Regions from separate parts of the Homo sapiens genome. Here region 1 is linked to region 2. Evidence: promoter capture Hi-C in human tissues and cell types (Jung and others, 2019). All regions are on one chromosome and are shown on one strand. The core of a region is centred on a gene start or on the middle of the fragment in contact, and the rest is flanking DNA. Distances in the headings are between cores, read along the strand shown.

Region 1 (3,734 bases), core at 125-2,624, 1.6 Mb before region 2:
TTGTCTCCCAGGCTGGAGTGCAATGGTGCAATCATAACTCACTGCAGCCTCAATGTCCTGGGCTCAAGGATTCTCCTGCTTCAGCCTCCCAAGTAGTTAGGACTATAGGTGTGGGCTACCACACCTGGCTAGTTTATATATATATATTTTAGAGACAGGGGGTCTCTCTACATTGCCCAGGCTGGTCATGAATTCCTGGTTTCGAGTGATCCTCCCACCTCGGCCTCCCAAAGTGCTGGAATTACAGGTGTGAGTCACTGCGCCCCACCCCAAAGCTATCTTTTTTTTTTTTTTTTTTTTTTTGAGATGGGGCCTCACTCTGTTGCCCAGGCTGGAGTGCAGTGGCATGATCTTGGCTCACTGCAACCTCCGCCTCCTGGGTTCAAGTGATTCTTCTGCCTCAGCCTCCTGAGTAGCTGGGACTACAGGTGCACGCCACCACACCCAGCTAATTTTTTTTGTATTTTTAGTAGAGACGGGGTTTCACCATGTTGGCCAGGATGGTCTCGATTTCCTGACTTGGTGATCCGCCTGCCTCGGCCTCCCAAAGTGCTGAGATTGCAGGCATGAGCCACCGTGCCTGGCAAAGCTATCAGTTTTATGATTATCTTGTTTTTCATTATATTAATACAATAATGGTTTGTTAAACTGTTTCCTCTTTGTACACATTTAAATCTTCATTTGAATAGAATCTAAGATGTATAATTGCTGAGTTTAAGGCATGCCTGTACATGCTCATACATTTTTCTAAATATAATCTTATGTGCAGGATGCCCTGAGATTATTTCTCATGTAATCATATGGGGTGTAACCAGTTGTCTCATTTTGCTAATCTCATAACTGGGAAATGATATTTCTTTGTTGCTCTACTGTGGGCGGCAAGCCACCCAGGCGCCGAGGCAAGAGATCGAGGACACGAGCTGTTCCAGTATAATAAAATATAAAACAAGAATAGTTATACCAGATATAGATCTTAGAGATATATGAATATCATTAATCATTAGTTTCTAGTAATTACTCTTTATCCCAATATTATAATAATCCTCGCTCTACAATCATAACCTAGGAAAAACCAGGCCATACAGAGATAGAAGCTGAGGGGACATAGTGAGGTGTGACCAGAAGAGAAGAGTGCGAGCCTTCTGTTATGCCCGGACAGGGCCAGCAGAAGGGTTCCTTGGTCTAGCGGTAACGCCAGTGTCTGGGAAGACGCCCGTTGCCGAGCGGACGGTGGTCTAGCAGTAGCGAAAAGTGTCAAGGAACAATACCTGCTACTTAGCAGACCGGGAAAGGGAGGCTCCCTTTCCCCGGGGGAGTTTAGAGAAGACTGTGCTCCTCCACCTCTTGTGGAGGGCCTGACATCAGTCAGGCTTGCCCGCAGTTATCCAGAGGCCTGACCGTCTCCCTGTGATGCTGTGCTTCAGTGGTCACGCTCCTAGTCCGCCTTCATGTTCCATCCTGTACACCTGGCTCTGCCTTCTAGATAGCAGTAGTCAATTAGTGAAAATACTAATAGTCCCTGATATGCAGAAATAATGGCGTAAGCTGTCTTTCTCTCTGTCTCCTCTCCCTCTCTGCCTCGGCTGCCAGGCAGGGAAGGGCCCCCTGTCCAGTGGACACGTGACCCACGTGACCTTACCTATCATTGGAGGCGACTCACATTCTTTACCCTGCCCCTTCTGCCTTGTATCCAATAAATAACAGCACAGCCAGACATTCGGGGCCACTACCGGTCTCCGCGCATTGGTGGTAGTGGTCCCCCGGGCCCAGCTGCCTTTTCTTTTATCTCTTTATCGTGTGTCTTTATTTCTACACTCTCTCGTCGCCGTGCACAGGGAGAGACCCACCGACCCTGTGGGGCTGGTCCCTACACTCTACCATTCAAATCCTTGATTTCAAGTAGCATCTTACCTCTCTATTGAAATTTCTTTAGTAGTTGTTGTTTTAGAATTCTTCAAATTTATTTGCATCTTCTGCAAGGAAGTCTTCAAATTTATTTGTATCCTCTTTATTAAGATAGAGCGGGGGTCCCCAAAACCTGGGCCACAGACCAGTACTGGTCCTTGGCCTGTGAGGAACCAGGCCACACAGCAGGAGGTGAGTGGCAAGCAAGTGAGCAAAGCTTTCTCTGTATTTACAACCGCTCCTTATCACTCACATTACTGCCTGAGCTCCACCTCCTGTCAGATCAGCGGCGGCATTTGATTCTCATAGGAGCGTGAACCCTATTGTGAGCTGTGCATGTGAGGGATCTAGGTTGTGGGCTCCTTATGAGAATCTAATGCCTGATGATCTGTCACTGTCTCTCATCACCCCCAGATGGGACTGTCTAGTTGCAGAAAACAAGCTCAGGGCTCCCACTGATTCTACATTATGCTGAGTTGTATAATTATTCCATTATATATTACAATGTAATAATAATACAAATAAAGTGTACAATAAATGTAATGCACTTGAATCATCCTGAAACCACCCTGTCCCTACTCTGTGGAAAAATTGTCTTCATGAAACCAGTCCCTGATGCCAAAAATGTTGGGGACCGCTGAGATGGAGGTACTCCCTGCCCATCTTTACTGAGGTATAATTGACACATAAAAATTTTATATATTTAAATATATATTTATATATTTAATCTTTTGATAGAAATGTACATTGTGAAGTCATTGCCACTATCAAGCTAATTAACATATTCATTACACGATAGAGGTTTTAATAAGATATTTTGGGAAGATTCCCTCAAATGTTCCATTTTATTTTGTGAAAAGAGAAACTGTACTAAGAACTTTAGAGACTATCAGCCTCAAAGATTTGCTAAGATGCAGAAAAGCTGTTATTCTTACAGTTATGGTTTATTCTAGTAAAAGGATACATACTAAAGTCACCAGAAAGAAAAGGTACATGGACAAAGGTTAGGAGAAACCAGGTACAAGCTTTCAGGTGGCTGCTTCCAGAGGAGCTATACAGGGACACACTTAATGCTCCTAACAATGACATGTCACAACATTGTGTGAACTATTGCCAGCCAGGGAAGCTCACTTGAGCCTTGGTTTCCAGAGTTTTTATTGGGGAGTCAGTCTTGCAGGGATTTATCACTCAATACCTGACTTTAGCTACTCAGTCTCCAGTTCCCCAGATGTCAAACTGATACAGCATGCTCCAAGGCCTGTGGCATACAAAAACAATCTTATCAGGTAGGATATTTTAAGGGCTCAGAGGTTATCTCCCAAGAGCCAGTCAAGGGCCAGTTCTTTCTTTGGCACGTGCAGGATTTGAGCATTCCAGGTGTACTGAGTTACCTGTCCACTCACCCAGGCCTTGGCTTAGGCTCTCTTGTAGCAAAACTACCTGAGCAGCTACACAGAAACAGCAATAGTATCAGGATGTAGATGGCTATCATTTCAAGGAGCCAGTATGGAGTAGCAATGGATTTAAAGAAACAACTAACCTATCCAATAAAGCCATTACATGCATTCTCATATTTTTGTATTAATTTGATTACTCATTTCCCTCCTTGAATCTACTGTTATGTGCCACATGATAAACTTGTACAGAACTATTGAGCGTAGAAATTAGCTGATGGTTGGTTAAATTCTCCCTGAAGCCAGTCTTTTTCACTGTTACTTCATTAGCCAGGTATGGTGGTATGTGCCTGCAGTCCCAGCTACTCGGGAGGCTGAGATGGGAGGATCCACTTGAGCCCAGGAGGTCAAGTCCAGCCTGGACAACTATCAAGA
Region 2 (3,853 bases), core at 346-2,845:
ATCCCAGCTACTCGGGAGGCTGAGGCAGGAGAATCACTTGAACCTGGAAGACAGAGGTTGCAGTGAGCAGAGATCATGCCACTCCACTCCAGCCTGGGGAACAGTGAGACTGCCATCTCAAAAAAAAAAAAAAAAAAGAGCCAGTGCAAAGGTCCTGGGGTAGGGAGAAGCAAGGAGGCCAGTGTGGCTGGGGTGGAGTGAACAAAAGAGGGTGAGAGGAGGTGAGTGCAGAGATGATGGGGCAGGTTCACATAGGCCCTTGTGGGCCATGGCTGAGAGCCTTGGCTTCTACCTGGAGTGAGGTGCAGCAGGCAGACCCCTCTGAGGGAAAGAGGGCTCCAAAGTGACAGGTGTTCATGGGTCCCTGTGGCTGCATGTTGGAGGAGGACGGGGACAGCAGGTAAGAGGCTGCTGCCGTAGTGCTGGTGGCAGAAGAAGAAGGATGGACCAAGATGAGGGCCCAGGGTAGCGGTGGGGAGAGTGAGATCCTGGAAATCTTTTGGAGATGGAGCTACTGGACCTGTGCATTAGAAGGATGAGGTGTTCAAGGCTGTCACCCAGCCCCATCCAGGCTGGGATGATTTGAGGCAGAGCAGGCTACAGCTCCAGGTGGGAAGCCAAGCCATGACAATGGAGCCAGGACCCTGGGCTGGCTTCAGGAGGCCTCCGTGGGGAAGATACAGGTTCTGAGAGAGTTGGAGGGGTCAATCGGCAGATCTGTTTCCCAGACACTGCTACAGGCATGTAGCATGGTGATTAAGAATCAAAGCTGGGCATGGTGACTCGTGCCTGTAATCTCAGCGCTTTGGGTGGCAGGGGCAGGAGGATCCCTTGAGGTCAGGAGTTCAAGACCAGCCTGGGCAACATGGCAAAACCCTGTCTCAAAAAAAATTCTCCAGACATGGTGGCATGCACGTGTGGTCTCGGCTACTCGGGAGGTTGAGGTGGGAGGATGGCTTGAGCCCAGAAGTTTGACGCTGCAGTGAGCCAAGATCACAACACTGCACAGTAGCCTGGGTGACAGAGTGAGACCCTGTCTAGGAAATAATAAAAATAAAAATCAGACTTTACAGACTGTCTGGTTTCAAATGTTCGCTCCATCACCTACTCATGTACTTTTGGGCAAGCTGCTTAACCTCTGGGCCCCAGTGTGTGAGCCTCGCATTATGATGGTAAGGATGAGATGATCATGATAGGAGTCTCTAGGAAATCACCCCTCTGAGGCACCCATTATGAATGGTGAGCTTGGAGAAGGGGTCCGGTCTAGGGTCCTAGAGAGAGGGTCCCCTAGAGGGTCCCCATCGTCACCACGCCCCAAGACCACTGCCCTCACCGGCCTGGTTTGCAGGCGTGGGGGAAGGGGATGGAGAAGATCTGTGTCCGCTCTCTCAGCCCTCTCTTTTGCCGTTGTATCTGCTCATCTCGCTCCTTTCCGTAGCCATCTCTTCCTCTCCCAGTGCCCGGAGGCTCTCCCCTTTCAGTCGCCGCCTCTGGCCCCTCCATCAATGCGAGCGCCTCCCGGTCCCTCCTCCTGGTCCCTCCTCCCCCGCCGCCGGTAGGGGGGCAGCAGGCGCATGCGCAGTCGCGCCCCTCCCTCTCCGCCCCCACCCCCTGTCGGCGTCTGGGCCTCGTCCCCTTCTCTCTGTCTCCCTTGCCTCCCCCATCACGTCCCCTGACACCGACACCCCATTGCTCCCACAGTCTCCCCAGTCTCCACTTTGGTCCCCAGCGCTGTCTGCCCGAGGTAAGATGGGGAGGGGGCGGCCCGCGGAGAAGGGGAGGGGCGAAGCATCCTGAATCCCGAGATAAACAAACCCGGGGAGGGGGCAGCCGCGACTGAGGGGCCTGACGCGGGAGGAGAAGAATGGGGGGCTGGGCCTGGGGGAGGTGGCAGGCGCTGGGCGCACACACCGGGGCCCTCTATGGGTAACGGGGGTCCCTATGGTTGCCCAAGATCCAGTTGCGCGGAGGCCACCCGGGGCCCTGGAAGCTCCTAGGGGCTTGGACCCTGGAGCCTGCCGGGCACCCTCTCCAGCTGACCTCTGCCTCCAGGATTTGCCTGAAGGCTGCCCCCAACTCTGCACCCGCCCCCCGAGGGCCACCGAGGACCATGACTAAGACAGATCCTGCCCCGATGGCCCCGCCACCCCGAGGAGAGGAGGAAGAAGAGGAGGAGGAGGATGAACCCGTCCCCGAGGCCCCCAGCCCCACCCAGGAGCGCCGGCAGAAGCCTGTTGTGCACCCCTCGGCACCTGCCCCCCTCCCTAAGGACTACGGTAACCACTGTCCCCACCCTGGAATCTGGCCTGGAGCGTTGGGTGGCCGGGGAGGGTGGGCTGTGCTCTGCTGGTGGTGATGGTGGGAGAATTCTGGGGAATTTGAAGGTGGTCCAGAGGAATCTTGGCTGCAGAGCACCCCTCGTTAATTCATTCATTCACCCATTGGAGAATGGAATTGTAATACTCCTAGTCTTTGACTCATGACACATCATTCCATCATTTAGTCATTCAACAATCATTTTTTGAAAGCGGCTGTGGACCTGGCTTTATGCTAGGGGCTGGGGCCACAGCAGGGGGCAAGAGAGACCCAGTCTTTGCCCTGAGACAACTCACAGGCCTCAGTAACAGCCACACAAATAGGTATTAAACCATAATGTAATTTTTCACATTTAGGTTTATATGCAAGAAAGAAAAATATAATGTAATATAAATATGTAATTACAAGACATTATGAAAATTGTATTTACCATAAACAAGCTGCTGCAAGAGTTTTTTAAGACATTGTTTCCCTGAGGAGGTTACAGTTGAGAAGACTGGAGGGTGAGTTGGGGTTAACTAAGAGAAGGGTCAGGGGAAAGGGCTCCCAGGAGAGGTAACCGCTGGGTAAAGGATCTGAGGTAGGAGGGTATGGAGCTGAGAGGGCGGCCTCTTGGAGAAACTGAAAGTGTCTAATCATTGACCGAGCGATATTTATCGAGTGCTGCTACTCTGTGACAAGCCTTATGCTGGGTGCCGGAGATTTAATCCTAAGTGATCCAGGCATGATCCTCCCTTGCAGGAGAGAAGGAGAGACTAAACAAGTGAACAGATAAATAAATCAGAAATCAGATAAATTCAGATTGGAGCAAGTGCTATGAAAGAAAGAAAAGGTGGGCTGGGCATGGTGTCTCACGCCTGTAATCCCAGCACTTTGGGAGGCTGAGGCCAGCGGATCACCTGAGGTCAGGAGTTTGAGACCAGCCATGGCCAACATGGTGAAACCCCATCTCTACTAAAAATACAAAAATTGGCTGGGTATAGTGGCATATGTCTGTAATCCCAGCCACTCGGGAGGCTGAGGCAGTAGAATCGCTTGAACCTGGGAGGCAGAGGTTGCCCAAGATCGAGCCACTACACTCCAGCCTGAGTGACAGAGTAAGACTGTCTCAAAAAAAAAAAAAAAAAAGAAAAAAAAAAAAAAGAAAAGAAAAAAAGAAAAAAGAAAAAGAAATTAAAGGTGGAGATACGATAATGACTAGGGGGCAGCTACCTGCAGGGGTAGTCAGGGCTGCTCTTTCTGAGTAGGTAACATTTAGTTTGGGACCCAGAGCATGGGGAGGAATCAGCCATAAGAGAGCTGGAAAAAGAGTGTTCCAGGCAGACAGCAGCAAGTGCAAAGGCCCTGAGGCAGAATTGAACTTGGAACAGAAAGATCCTGGAGCTGCATTCAGGGAATGATCGAGGTTGAGGTGAGAGGTTGGCATAGGCCAGATCTGGAAGGGCCTTCAAGGCTACAGTGAGGACTTTGGTTATATTCTAAGTGGGACAGGGGAGAAGAGTGGCAAGGGGAGGGTGTTTAAGAGCAGAGGAGTGGC

Evidence for each region. Contacts are between HindIII fragments. The study calls those that stand out against the background at their distance.
Region 1: a contact is called between a fragment that was not itself captured here and the fragment with the promoter of CLIP3 in region 2, in 1 of the 25 tissues and cell types used here (small bowel).

Annotation. Positions count from the first base shown.
Region 1 is chr19:37,678,669-37,682,402 of GRCh38, reverse strand. It overlaps the pseudogene ZNF781. Among named protein-coding and RNA genes, the nearest start is that of ZFP30, 25 kb to the right of the region's middle. The HindIII fragment of the contact is 6,868 bases long and covers 1-3,734 here.
Region 2 is chr19:36,030,615-36,034,467 of GRCh38, reverse strand. CLIP3 (CAP-Gly domain containing linker protein 3) reads left to right here and starts at 1,595. Exons shown (of 14, transcript NM_015526.3): 1 at 1,595-1,744; 2 at 2,053-2,276. The coding sequence starts at 2,111. All of the region lies in intron 3 of LOC101927572 (a long non-coding RNA gene), which reads right to left. The HindIII fragment of the contact is 12,641 bases long and covers 1-3,853 here.